Regions from separate parts of the Homo sapiens genome. Here region 2 is linked to region 1. Evidence: promoter capture Hi-C in human tissues and cell types (Jung and others, 2019). All regions are on one chromosome and are shown on one strand. The core of a region is centred on a gene start or on the middle of the fragment in contact, and the rest is flanking DNA. Distances in the headings are between cores, read along the strand shown.

What was found. Contacts are between HindIII fragments. The study calls those that stand out against the background at their distance.
Region 2: a fragment that was not itself captured here is called in contact with the fragment with the promoter of UBR5 in region 1 in 1 of the 25 tissues and cell types used here (dorsolateral prefrontal cortex).

Annotation. Positions count from the first base shown.
Region 1 is chr8:102,406,908-102,414,068 of GRCh38, reverse strand. It overlaps UBR5 (ubiquitin protein ligase E3 component n-recognin 5), which reads left to right and starts at 1,369. Exons shown (of 59, transcript NM_015902.6): 1 at 1,369-1,896. The coding sequence starts at 1,835. LOC105375683 (a long non-coding RNA gene) reads right to left here and starts at 1,730. Exons shown (of 5, transcript NR_168428.1): 1 at 1,058-1,730. RefSeq lists enhancers at 1-4, 105-214, 776-1,045, 1,420-2,198, 2,199-2,977 and 2 more and silencers at 1,196-1,395, 1,426-1,505, 1,566-2,005. The HindIII fragment of the contact is 18,623 bases long and covers 1-7,161 here.
Region 2 is chr8:101,686,850-101,693,966 of GRCh38, reverse strand. NCALD (neurocalcin delta) reads left to right here. Exons shown (of 4, transcript NM_032041.3): 3 at 1,071-1,176; 4 at 4,561-7,117. The coding sequence ends at 4,658. Among named protein-coding and RNA genes, the nearest start is that of NCALD, 100 kb to the left of the region's middle. The HindIII fragment of the contact is 3,080 bases long and covers 1-2,953 here.

The sequences.
Region 1 (7,161 bases), core at 120-2,619:
GTGGCATGATCTCAGCTCACTGCAACTTGCCAGGTTCAAGCAAGTCTTCTGCCTCAGCTTCCTGAGTAGTGGGGTTTACAGGCGCGCACAGCCATGCCTGGCTAATTTTTGCATTTTTAGTAGAGATGGGGTTTCACCAAGTTGGCTAGGCTGGTCTCGAACTCCCAACCTCAGGTGATCCGACATCCTCGGCCTTCCAAAGTGCTGGGATTACAGGCGTGAGCCACTGTGCGCCGTGGCCAAAACTCTGAAAGTGTCTTATAGTAGAAACTCGGTATAAAAGATCCTATCTCGGCCAGGCGTGGTGGCTCAGGCCTGTAATCCCAGCACTTTGGGAGGCCGAGGCGGGTGGATCACCTGAGGTCAGGAGTTCGAGACCAGCCTGGCCAACATGGTGAAACCACATCTCTACTAAAAAAGAAATACAAAATTAGCCGGACGTGGTGACACATGCCTGTAATCCCAGCTACTCCATAGACTGAGACAGGAAAATCGCTTGAACCCGGGAGGCGGAGGTTGAGGTGAGCCGAGACCGCGCCATTGCACTCCAGCCTGGGCAACAAGAGCGAAACTCCGTCTCGGGGAAAAAAAAAAAAAAAATAATAATTTTCCGTTCTGATTCCACTGATCATAAATTGAACTCCTTTGTAGAACAGGTTTATCATCTTTCATTTAAAAGTAATAAAAAATCACGAATCATTTATATCAGGAAATTAGTGGAAATTTCCACATTTTGTCTTTGGGCATGTGATGGTGGTGAGGAAACTGGGGAGACCGAGGTAATAGAAGTTGCTGCAAAGCCAACTCCAGGATCCTACTATCTCCTTCTGGAAAGGCCCTTACATAATTTCCTTACTTTTCCAATAAAAGGCTGTATATGTCTTGCCCCTTAACTGATTTTACCAACTTCACCATAAATACAACTGCGGATGAAGGATGAGAAGCAACAAGAAACCCCTAAGGATCCGCCAAATAATTAGGGCTGCCCCAGGGGAATCCGAGCGAAAGAACACAAGAGCCCCTCTTCCTCCTCGCCTCCTCTGGGACACACACTTACCCTCCCTCCCGGCAGGTTAGCCCGCAGCCTCCTCCTTCCCTAACACGTGCTCTCCGGAACACTCACTCTGGAGACATCCCACCCCCGGCGGGGCTGGGCTCGGGAGCCGAACGGACCAATCGGCACGCGCCTTACAGCGTCGTGGCCCGACAACGTTGAGCAGCCCAATCGAGGGGGCCTTGCCGCCCGTTTCCCGGAGCCCCGCCTCTCGCCGCCGCGCCCCCGCCCGCCGGTCTCCTCCCTCCTCCTCCTCCCGTTTGCCCCTCCCCCGCCGCTCCGGAGCGGAGCCTGCGAGACGGAGAAACTGGGGCAGAAGTGAAGATGGCGGCGGCAGCTTCTCGCTAGTGACGCGCGGTGCGGGCTCATCTCCTTCCCCTCCTTCCTCACCTCCCCTAGTCCGGACCCCGTCCGCCGCCGGGACCAGACCGTCCCCGTAGCCCGCAGCCAGCAGCCGCCCCTCTCCTCCCCCGGCCGCCCCTCTCCCAACGCCCGTCTGCCGCTGGCCGGCGGCGCGCCCCTGGTCCCGGCCGCCTGCCTCGCACTCCGCGCTGTCGCCGGGGGAGCGGGTGGCGTGTGGATTCGCCCTCCTGCCCGCCCCTCCGGGCCGCGGACACACGCCCGGCAGGGAGGCGGCGGCGGCCCCTGCGTATTTGCTTCCCTCCATTTGGGGACTGGGAGGCGGCGGCGGCTGTGGGTTTTGGGGAGGGGTAGAGGGCTGGGGGGCGGGCGAGAGCGGGAGGGGGCCGCCCTCGAGTGGAGGACGAGAAGGAAAGCACCATGACGTCCATCCATTTCGTGGTTCACCCGCTGCCGGGCACCGAGGACCAGCTCAATGACAGGTAATAGGGCTGGCGGGTCGGCGGGCGCGGGGGGAGGGGCGCCCTTCCCTCCCTCCCCTCCCCCACGGGCCGTGCCGGGCGGGTGCGGGTGTTTACGCGCCGGCCGGCCAGCTGGGGTGGGGTGCGGGGGTCCTTACTGCCTCCTGCTAGGCTCCTTCCGGGGCAAACTTCTCATCCCGGGGGCAGGGGGCCGCGGGGGGAGCGCGGTGTAGACGGGACTCGCGGTGTAGACTGGAGAGCGCTCTGTAAACCCCCTTCCCCCTCCCGCAAGGAGCGGCGTTGAACTCGGCGGAGATGGGGGGGTGGTTTCTGGCTCCCGGGGGGCAGGCGGTAATTACTGCCCGGCCAAGGCCCGAGGAATCCATATTAGTCAAAGTTGAATTGAGACAGACAATGCGGATGGGGGATGGTGGAGGTAAAAAGAGAGGGAAGAGGAGAAGCGGGGCCAGGGGCCCCGGGGTGGGCTGGGCTGGGCTTGTCCCGGGCCCCCGGCAGCTGTGTCCGGTGGGGTGGTCTGGACCTGGGGATCCCGGGGTCGGGTTGGGGAGAGAAGCCGATTCCCGGCAGATTGCTGGGAGCGGGCGGGGGGTGGGGGGAAGGTGATAGTTGGGGGAGGGAGTGAGGGAGGAAGCGCCATGATTATTGTTATTATTATTAAATTTGAGCCCCTGCAGTGAGGTTTGCCTGCCCCGGGAGGGGATGGATTCAAGCGGGGGTGGGGAAGTGCATTGGATTCCCTTTACTCTCCTCCTGAAATGGTGCTGGCAGCTCCTGCTACTAGCCCCTGTGGTGCGAGCTTTTTTGTTTCCTTTTCTATTCTAATGATAGTGTTTTCCTGAGTTGTAATTTGACAGCTGAAAACCGTGCGTAGAGTGTCAAAGGAAAACTCTTACGTTTGCAGTTCGCAATGCTGCTTTTCTTAACACGCTGTAAATTTCTGGGTTGGGTTTGCTATGGGCGGAGGATGAATTATGATTTTATTTTATGTTTTGTCTTTTATAGGCTGTTTTGGTTTGGATTTCTCCTTTTCTTCCGCCACCGTTCCTTGCCAGTTTAGGATATTGAATTGCAGTGCCGCATGCTCTCAGGGAACTGAGATAAGGCAGGAAAAGTTCCTTCACTGTTGGAAAACAGACTCAGGAGGTTGAGGGAGGCCTCCATTAAAGCATGTCTTAGAATCTAAGACTCAGATCTAATGATGGGCTAAATGTTTACAGGATCACAAAGTGGAGCATTTTAAGTCTTCCTCTCTCCCAGTACTTCACTGCTCTCTACATTTCTTTTGCGTATAGAAGGCCATCTGGTCCCAAGTTTAGAAGTTACATAGAATTTTTGCTAAGTGACCGGGTGACTTAAGTTGCATGATGCCCTGTTTGTCATGCGCTTCCCAGAGGGAGGAAGAGGCCTAACTTGCTGCTGAGATACTGGCCTCTTGTGTCAGTGTATCTAACCGCCTCAAGTGGAGCAGACAGCTTTTAAATCCAGAGCTGGCGGTTTAGTTTCTGCACTTGGTTCGGATTTGCCTAATCTTTGCTGTAGCCATATTGTATTTAACATGTTTGGGAATCTTTTGAAATACTTACTGAAAATACTAACTACTCAGAGTTGTCACATAGTTCCTTTAAATTCTGAAATAACTTTTTAGTTATTTAACATTTTGTTATGTGGTTCTTAGCCTGACTTTACTTCATTAAAGATCTTTTGGAGACATTAACATAAAATTTTTTGGTAAAATTTAGAAACAGGCTAGTAGTGAGGATAGCTCTACGGTCATTAACAGAACCATGTTGGTAGTGCTTGTCTTGTTACTTAGAAAACCGCACCAGAGAGAAGAGAGGTAGGGCATGTTTTCTATATTAGTCCTAACTTTATGTACCAAGAAACCTGACTAGCTTACTCAGTTGGCTGTGCATGCCAAAACCTATTTTGCGGTTGTGTTGGGCACTTTGATTCATTTTTGAGCATTCCTTTTGCTTCAGCTATTTGAGAAATTTACAAGTAATGTATCTTTTTAAATGCTAACTCTTCTTTTTCCATTCCTAGTATAAACAATCAGCTTTGTTTGATTCTTCTATCATTATACAACATTAAAAATATTTAGATCATAGTGACTTTTAATTTCATGAAATTAGGAAAAAAGTAGACTTGAGTCATAACATGTGCATCAAGGTGGCAGATATTTGAAAAATAGAAAGGTGCCGTAGGTGAAATTATAAAGAGCTATATGGTTGTATCTAGTAGCGGTAAACATGTCTTGCCTTTTGAGATTTGTGAAGGCAGCATTTAAGATAGGCACATATCCTAAGTTTTGAAGTAGCTGATTTGTGGCAGGAGCTGTTCTGTGTTTCCCTTTCAAAAGGAGGGCTCCTTTTTGCATACCTACTTGTAATAGGATCAACCTGTCACTTGAGAAAAATCTGTTTCCAAAAGAGACTGGTTTTCTGGAACCTTTTAATTAACTAGAATAAGCGTATTTTCATCTAAAGATAAAAACTTTACCAAGTTTTAGTAAGTTGGGGCAATAAAAAAGCTACTGCTACTGTAGCTTGACTTTTTTTATTATGAGAAATGTATGAGAGTCACAAATAAAATGATAATCATAGTTATGTATGAAAAGGGTGTAAATAGACTTTATACTTTGGAATAAAAGTAGTAAGATTAGACAGGCAGAATGGTACTGCAAATAAATTGCTCAGCTGAAGAAAACTTGGTCCTCAAAACAGTAGTGTTTTCTTCAAATACGTTTTCTTTCTTTACCCACATCCTCTTAAAAAGTCAAATATTTTGTTCAGCATCATAGTCTGATGTCTCAAGTGTCTAAAATGTACAAAGCATAAAAAAGTATCTTTTTTTCATAATTTGTGTTTTCAGACTTGCCAATAATGAATAATAATGATGCCAGGATGAAATTGACAAATACAGGTGGGGATGGCTGGGGTGGAAAGAAGAGGATGTTGGCTGTGACTTCCCAGAATGATTACAAGGTGCCTGGCACAGAATGCTGGGCCCTCAAGCAAATATTCATTGAGCTGAATTGAAACCATTCAGTGCTCAGATACTTTGGACATTTTGATCTCCTTTCCAATGGATTTCTTGAGTTAGTACTACGTTCCTGCTTAAAACATTGTCTCAGAGAAACAGTAAAACAATATAAAGAATGTGGTTCGTCGAGCTTGAGGGGAGAGCTGAAAGGCCTGCCTCACTAATAGCCTGGAAAGTGCCTCACTAATGAGCTGAAAAAATAGGCACAGAGATTTACAGTGTTTATGCAGGGATACAACTACTGAGAGACAGCTGAGGTCCACCTGATGGGTCTTCTGACTTTTCTTTAAAGTCCAGGGCTCCATTCCACTTCACGTGGCTTGTATTCCAGAATGGTTCTGCTGTCTCAGACATCCCAGCCTTCAGGCAGTGTGGCCACCTGTCTTAGTGTTTTGATTCCGTTTTCCCCTCAACTGCTCTTTCCAGGGCTCCTAATGGGTTTATGCCTTTTTTTCAGAGGCTGACGCTCTTAACCTTTTCTTGGTACTAGGTTAGGATAGGTCTTCTTAAGGTGATGTGGTTATGGCATTTATTGTCCTTGTCCTGAATTATTCCTCAAGATGCAGGTTAGTTACGAAACAAACCAGTTCTTATTGCTTGTCTGTATGTGGAATTTTCCTGTGAGATTTGCCTTTTGGCATTACAACGTATTGTGCAGTCATAAACAGTCTTTATTGAGATTGTCATATCAAAAGGATTTTTCTCTAAGCTTAGAGTTTCCCTTTCAGGTGTCATAACACAAGGTAAGATACTATAGACAGGAGTTTCAAACTCTGCGCTGGTAGCCTAGTCATTTAACCTCTTAGAACCCCCCACATCAATCTCTGAATTAGGTGTAGCACTCTCCTCAAGGTCAGGGAGGAACAGTTGAGACAGTAGATGGGAAAAGATCAATATTATAATGTGGATTCTACGGAAAACATTACGAAGAGATGGTTACTTTTAACTTTTTACGTGTTGCCTGGTTTCCAGATAGCAAAGCAGGAACTCAAAAGAGTTGCCCTAGAATATCCTTAGCATTCAGAGCAGAATCGACTCTTAGTTCTAGATTAGTACTTCTCAGCTTGGTGTGATTTTGCACCCTCCACACACAACCCCCTCCCCTTATTGGGCAGTGTCTGGAGACATTTTTTATTGTCACAGCTGGGGCATTGCTACTGGCCTCTAGTGGATGGAGGCCAGAGATGCTGCTAAACATCCTATAATGCATAGGATAGCCCCCACAACAAAGAATTACGGGGTCCAAAATGTCAGTTGTGCTAAGGTTAAGGAAGCCCATCCTAGATGATCTTCAATGCATTTGGTTGTAAAAATAAGTGAAAATGACTTTTATGAAGAATATTTCAAGCAATATACGTTCTTTTTTTTTTTCTTTTTTGAGACACAGTTTTGCTTTGTCTCCTAGGCTGGAGGCAGTGGCCGGATCTCGGCTCAATGCAACGTCCACCTCCTGGGTTCAAGCGATTCTCCTTCCTCAGCCTCCCAAGTTACAGACGCATACCACTATGTCTGGCTAATTTTTGTATTTTTAGTAGAGATGGGGTTTCGTCATGTTGGCTAGGCTGCTCTTGAACCTAACCTCAGGTGATCCATCTGCCTCAGCCTACCAAAATGCTGGGATTACAGGCATGAGCCAATGTACCTGGCCGCAATATATATTCTTAATTTTTAAAACATGACTGTTTAAATTAAGATTAAGGCCCGGCCAGTGGCTCATGCCTGTAATCCCAGCACTTTGGGTGGCTGAGGCGGGCGAATCACTTGAGGTCAGGAGTTCGAGACCCCTTAGCCTGGCCAACATGGTGAAACCCCATCTCTACTAAAAATACAAAAATTAGCTGGGTGTGGTGGTGGACGCCTGTAATCCCAGCTACTCAAGAGGTTGAGGCAGGAGAATTGCTTGTGCCTGTGAGACAGAGCTTGAGCCCGTGAGGCAGAGGTTGCAGTGAGCCAAGATCGCGCCACTGCACTCCAGCCTGGGCGACAGAGCAAGACTCTGTCTCAAAAAAAAGGAAAAAAAAATTAATTAAGATTGATTAAAATTAAATAAAAATTTAAGTCACTTCATCTGTAGCTAGTCACATTTTAAGTGCACTGTAGTGCCACGTAGCTACTCACTACCACATTGGACAGTGCAAATACAGAGCAGTGCCATCATCACTGAAAGTTCTCTTGGATAGTGTTGGCATAGAAAGTGTGTTTTTGCACAAGTCTTGGCATTCA
Region 2 (7,117 bases), core at 164-2,663, 720 kb after region 1:
TTTCGCCCATCAGATCTCATAGCTGTACCCAGTTTAGCTCAGGCCTGAGGATGCATAATAATTCAGAGCTCTGATGGCAGGTGGTTTCCATCTCAGGACTGCCTGGAAGCTTGCTGAGAAGGAACTTGAGACCATTGTCACACACAGGGAGAAAAGCACTGGAATGGACTAGAAGTCTGCCTGGGGAAACATGTGGCATGCACTTACAGAGTGTTACATGTCTGTCATCCTTGAGGAGTCATTGTGGACTCTCAAGGGTCCATGATAGGCATCCACTTGCCTCTCTAGCCTGAAGAATGTCATCTGCAGCCTTGCTCCTCAAAGTGGGAACCTTGCTTTTCAAAGCAGCGTCTTCAGAACAGCAGCATCAGCATCACACCGGAGCTTATTAAAAATACAGACTCTCAGCCCCACCCCTTTCCCCCACACTACCCAATCAGATTCTGCATTTTAACAAGATTCCCAGGGGATTTGTATGCACATAAACAATGGAGACGGCTAGGAGAGGTGGCGCATGTCTGTAATCCCAGCACTTTGGGAGGCTGAGGGAGGAGAAGCTTGAGCCCAGGAGTTCGAGACCAGCTTGGGCAACATAATGAGACCTTGTCTGTACAGAAAAAAAAAAAAAAAAAAAAAAAAAAAAAAAAACGCCCTGTGTGGTGGGGAGTACCTCTAGTCCCAGCTGCTGCTCAGGAGACTGAGGTGGGAGGATTGCTTGAGCCTATGAAATGGAGCCTGCAGTGAGCCGTAAGCGTGCCACTACACTCCAGCCTGGGTGACAGAATGAGACCCTGTCTCAAAAAACAATCAAAAAACATTGGAGACACAGGGGTCTACTGGGTCTTCCTGCTGGTTGTCCCTCCTGAAGGTCCTCACTGGAGGAGAACAAGCTTTGTGGGCCCGGCTTCTTCTACCTGTGCCTCCACATCTTATACCAATCAATAGGGGTAGGACTAGGTCCAATGCGGATGGGGACATTCCCTTCAGCCCGCATTTGGGAGGTTTAATGATAGGTCTATTGTGTGCCATACTGTTTTTCTGTCTTACCACCATGTCGCTTCTGTCCCCAGGCAATCTATAAGATGGTTTCCTCTGTAATGAAAATGCCTGAAGATGAGTCAACCCCAGAGAAAAGAACAGAAAAGATCTTCCGCCAGATGGACACCAATAGAGACGGTAGGAGGCGGGGGCTACACTGCTTTGCTCAGATGGGGGCTGCTGGAAGGACTGGAGAGTCCAGACTGGGAAGTGCCACTCGAGGCCCTTCAATGTGAGCGGCTCATCCTCCAAGCCTCCTGGGTGGGTAGGAGGGGAGAGGACCAGGTGGCCACAGGAGAGCTGAGCCCAGAATTGGGGGAAATGCCTTATTTCTAGTTTTTTCTATCCTCCTTGTAGGTCAACTTCTACCTCCAAGAAAACAGAATGGATCTTGTGGGGCAAGAATGAAAGGAACCAAGAAACCATTGTTAGCACAGACCCATCCTTGGGACAGGCCTAGGCTATAGCAGGCTGGGTCCCTGCAGTCCAGTTCATCAAAATGGGGAGAGGGTTGTTATTCTGTGATCCTACCCAGATGCCGACAGCTTTCACTCCAGCCTGCCAAAGGGGTTTTGTTGGGGTCTCCTGTGCATGCACTGAGATGTTGTGTTTCCCAGAGACAGTGGGCTCCCATAGTCACTGGGGTGCCCGGGGTAGTGGTGAGGGAGTAAGGTGCCCAGCAGGTTCCCACCCTGATGGTGCTACCCACAATTCAAACCCAACGAAGTGAAAAAGAAGGTTGCATTTCCAACTTAAGAACAGAAGGATTTTAGATCTTAAATTGCCAGATAGAATACAGGAGGCCCAATTATCCTGGAATTTCAGATAAACAGCAACAGTTGTTAGGATTAGCCTAACAATTGTTTAGCCAACTAAAAAAGTCACTTGCTGTTTATCTGAAATTCAAAGTTAACGGGGCATCATGTATTTAATTTGCCAGATCTGGCAACCCTATTTAAATGTTATACTTGAGTTTAAAGAGCTCAGCTCAGGGCCCGGCTCTGTAGCTCTTGCTGTTATTATCAGCTCACCCGATCTGTTCAGAGGCCTCGGCAATTCTTGTCAACCATGTGCACAGGCACTTGGGTCCCCCACCTGGCGCTGATCTATAGAACAGCAGAAGGCGGCTTCGCAGTACAGAGAGCCTCTGTCTCCTTTTATCCCCCGCCCAGGTACAGCTGCCTAAGAATCTGGGTTTGTGTGGTATGGGCCTGTCTGCTTGCTTGTTTCCTCCACAAAGGTGCCATTCCATTTGGAAACATCCTATGTCCCCTTATTTGCTTTGATTCACAATGAATAGTTGTGACTAAACAAGCACGGGATTATTTTAATAGTTAATTAACTTGCTGATGTTAAACTGCAGGTTTTACTGGTACTCAAGGGAGCACAATGGGTTTGTGCTGTGCTCTAGGTCCAGACAGCTCTTCAGGATAGGGCTGAAGGATGGGAGAAGATCAGATGTCACAGGATAAAGCCCTAAAGCCCTAACTGTGTGTTGATCACAGGCAATGAATTAGGGTCTTTCCACTGGGACTCTGCTGCTATGGGATTGCAGAGCCCTGACTGAGTTAGCATTCTCAGAGCACAACTTACTGCTAAAGACCTGTGCCTTTCCAAAGGAAAACCTCATGTTTAAAATTAAATTAAATTTTCAAAGGTTAGGGTTGGGAGAGGGGGGTGGGAGCTGTAGAAGGAAGGAGGAAGAGGGGCTGTAAGTTCACAGCTGTCAGAGGAATCTTAGCTCAACCAGGAGACTGGGTGCTTCAGCTCAGTGCTTGGCTGCTGGACCCCAGGATTGAGGACACCTGCACCCCTCCCTGCCGAGAGCAGAGCAGTCCTCACCTAGAGTCTCCTACCCTTAGATTTAGCTTGCCTGTTGCTCTTGGAATCTAACTTCTGGCCTCCGATTTGAAAAGAAAAATCTGGGCCCTCAGGCAAGTTCTCCTAGGAGCCAACTCTGAATCATGCAGACAGTTAAGTGAAGAAAGCCAGACGTCATGCCGAGCTCCAGGTCTGCCCCTGCTACCTCCAGCTGGTGCCTCCCAGAGCCGACCCCTGAGAGACTGCAAAGTGTTCAGAGATCACGCCTGTCTCCCTTCCCTCATGCCTTGCCAAGCTGGAGGAAGTCATTACCATTGTAACTACTATGTGGGCAGGGCTGGGCTCATAAAAAATGGCCAGCACACAGAGCTTGGAGGGGATCAGCTCTACAAATTAAAAATAAATTAATAAATGCATCCCTATCTTTTTCCTTCATGGAGATAAAGTGGGTTTCATTAAACAAGAACTAGGTTCTGGCGGGGAGGGAGTTGTGGCTGAGGAGAAGATATGTTTGTTGGTGTTTCTGTTGGGGGAGGCCCCCTCCTGTCAGGTTTGGAGTAAGTTGAGAAATAAAAGAGGACAGAGGTCAAAAGATAGATACTGGAGGCTATGGCTTAGCGTGAGAGTCCAAGGACGTGCTGAAAAACCCACAGGCGTGCAGAGCCAGGCAGGCCGGGTGCTGCCCTTGGAGGAGCAGATGGAAATAAATCCTCTCTGGGGCAGCTCCTTTCAAGAGAAAAAGGGAGGGCAAAGCTGGGCGGAGATGCCCAGCAATTCCTCCCAAATTTACCAATCGAGCATGTCACTTCACTCCCAGGGGCGGGGTAGACAAAGAGGAAGGGTCCTTCTGGAAGCACCAGGAATGGGAAAAGCCTTGCAGTCCCCCAACTCCTACCCCACCCCCTCCCCTCCTCTCCACAAGTGACAGGCCTTCCTGGAAGAGAATTCTGTACGTGCTCCAGAGTAAGCAGAAAGGAAAGGTCACCGGGGTCGGAGTGGGAGCCCAGGCTGCTGAGCCTCCCTCCTCCAGCACATCAGGGTAGCAGGAGAGCACCCTAACTGAGAGGCAGAAACCCATGGGTTACCCTCTGCCTTGAACATACCCTGCTCTTCCCTGACCTCAGATGGAGGCACAGCTGTCTTCCCGTGGTGTATGAACAAACACTTACGTCCACGGCTTCTTCCCCAAGATAGGATGGGCTCTTGCAGCAAACCTAAGAACACAGAGTGGCCTGAAGAACACGAAGTGGCTCAGAAGGCTCCAGGGAACATTATGGGAACCAACCGGGTGCTGCCAGGGCCCAGCTCATTCTCATAAATGCAGGAGGGCCACTTGCTTTACAAATGCTGAGTGAGCCTCTCCAGGGCGCCTGGAGCCAGGAGGTCAGGGACCAAGTCAGCATCATCCACCACCCTCTCCCCAGTCCCGGGCCCAGGGCCGGGCACACAGTGGGCTCTCAGGCAGCGGCGTTTGATTGCCACATGTACTGTCCTAAGTGCTGGCAATGCCATGGTGAATGAGGCAGCAGTGTTCCTGGAGATTCCACTGGGCTCTTCCCCGGGACAGGTGAGTGCTGTGTGTCACAGTGGCAGTGAGGCTGCAGGCAGGTGAATCGACACTGCCCAGCACGCAGTAGTGGGAAGGGTGTAAGCTCATGCAGCTGCCACCAGCCACCACTCACCTGTCCTCTTGCTTCCTAGGAAAACTCTCCCTGGAAGAGTTCATCCGAGGAGCCAAAAGCGACCCGTCCATTGTGCGCCTCCTGCAGTGCGACCCGAGCAGTGCCGGCCAGTTCTGAGCCCTGCGCCCACCAATCGAATTGTAGAGCTGCTTGTGTTCCCTTTTGATTCTTCTTTTTAACAATTTTTTTTTTTTTTTGCCAAACAATATCAATGGTGATGCCGTCCCCTGTGCGGTCTGATGCGCCTTCCTCCGTGACGCCTTCAGCTTCTTTTGTCGTGGATGCTTCGTGGGAATGCCCAGAGCCCCAGTGTGCTTGTGGAGAGCATGGACAGACTTCGTGGTGTTCATTGTTTGATGATTTTTAATCGTTACTATTATTTTTTTTTATTCTAATGTCTCTGTTCTAAAACGTAAGACTCGGGGGTTGGGGCAAAAGAAGGGAAACCCATCCAGTCCTGTGATTCTATTGCAAGCTTCAAGGGGCTTTTGTTTGAAAGACAAAACTCCCCACCTGAATCTGTTGTCACACGTGCCGTAGGGGTGATGGATGGCACCGGATGCTGGATTCCCCAAGAACAAGTTACCCTCTGGGGTGAGGCTATTCCAGCGAGCTGGGACATTTCCCCATGGGGGCCCACTCCCCTCTCTTCCCCAGCAGGCTGTAGTTTCTAAGCTGTGAACATTTCAAGATAAATTAACAGAGGAGAGGAAAAAGATGGCTCAGCTATTTTTTCACAGGTTTACACTAGTTGAGCTAATATGCGTGTCTTTGGAAATTAAACACAAATGGTAACATATTCCAAAACCAGACCCATCTTGTTGCCTATTGTGATAAAATAAAAAGACGGCTGTATATAACATATTGGGTAATGCAGACCAAATTAAGTGTTTTGCCTTGTTTAAATGAAATGCATGTTTAGTGAGCACTAATACAATCTTATTCCAGAAGACTGTTTTTAGTAGCTTATTGTGAAGTAAGACAACTATAATGAATGTCTGTCTTGTTTGGAAGTCATATCTGTCTTTGCACAAATGTACCAATCGACAAGTATATTTTATATATTCCATAAAAATACAAAGTAACCCTGACTAGGGCCCAACTTTAATTTTGAATGCATTTCCAGAGTGGCCATGCCTAGAGGGCAGATGCAGAGCAGGTGGTAGTGGGACAGGACAATTGGAGCACAGGAATGTTAACATGTATGACAGGGGACCAGTAGGGTGGTTTCCCTCTCAGGCCCAGCAGCCCATTGACAGCATTAGACTGGCGGCATGGTGCTTTTCTGAGCAGATCAATACTCTGCAGACTCGAAAAAACATCACATACATTCTTGGAACTTCCCAGTGGTTTAATCTATGTGCATGGTTAGGGAGCCAGGTCTGGAATATTCAGTTTCCCTGCCCCTGTTAAAGAATCAGAGGTTGGGCAGTCATCAAATTCATCATAAAGACATGGGCAAGTGTGTCTGTGGTTTCCAAGGCCCCCCTATGGAGAATCCAAAAGTATTTTCCATTGCCGTGCTCTTTGAATGCAGACTTCTATTTCCAGAAGTGACAGCACAAGTCTGAGTTGCTGTTTGGTCTGGTGACCTCAGACACACTAATTTGAATTGAAAGCTAAGAGTAAAAATTTGCTGGTTACAGGCGAGTCATACTCTTGCAAGTAGTTAGCAAAGGGAGGCCCAAATTCTCAAGGTTGTTGATGGGGAACTTGCCACTAAGAGAAGGCAGAGAGGTCCCTAGTGGGTATATTTGCTGCCAAGCCACTTGCCAAAGAAGAGGAACCACAGAAAGAGAGACATCATGACCAGGAGAAAAATGTGACTAGACATGCTAACCTCCAGGTTTTTATATATGACTTGAGTCTGCTGTAATTGGCAGCAGAAATCCAAATTTGTATGGTAGACCAAAAAGAACCAAATCCATAGGGTGAAATTTTGAGACCTAGACTCTGTAAAAATAATCCTAGTCTTCCTCCAGGGGTCAGTTCCTCACAGTGGTTCTGTACCAAAACTTGCCAAATTCCTCCATGGCCAAGTGTTAAAATCTGTGTTTGGAAAATAGCGAATTAACCTAAGACACAGAAGGCAGACTGGGTGAGGAGACCTAGCATGCCCTATTGGCAGTGCTCAGGAGCTGCATCCCACTTTTCCCTGCTCTGAATCGAAGTCCTAGTTCCTTCCTTTGATTCTCCTTTGGTAGGTGGAATCAGTTAATGTTTTGAGAAACCTGCCTGGGCTCTGCCCTTAGTCATGACATCTCGCTGAGCCAGACCCACTCTGTTCCTTGGAACCTAGAGCTGGAGTGAGGAGTAGAGGTCTCCGGCTATTCCAGAAAGAAAAGTGAGCCACATGCAGGCTGATGAATGCCGACACTTCCAGAATGTATAGAAATAGTCCCTGTCCTGGCCTGCCACTGACCCTGTCTGTATTTTCTCGGAGGTTGTTTTTCTCCTTCTCCTTCCCAGGAAGGTCTTTGTATGTCGAATCCAGTGCACTCAAGTTTGGCCAAGGGACTCCACAGCACCCAGAAGACTGCATGCCTCAAGGTTTATGTCACTCCTCTGCTGGGCTG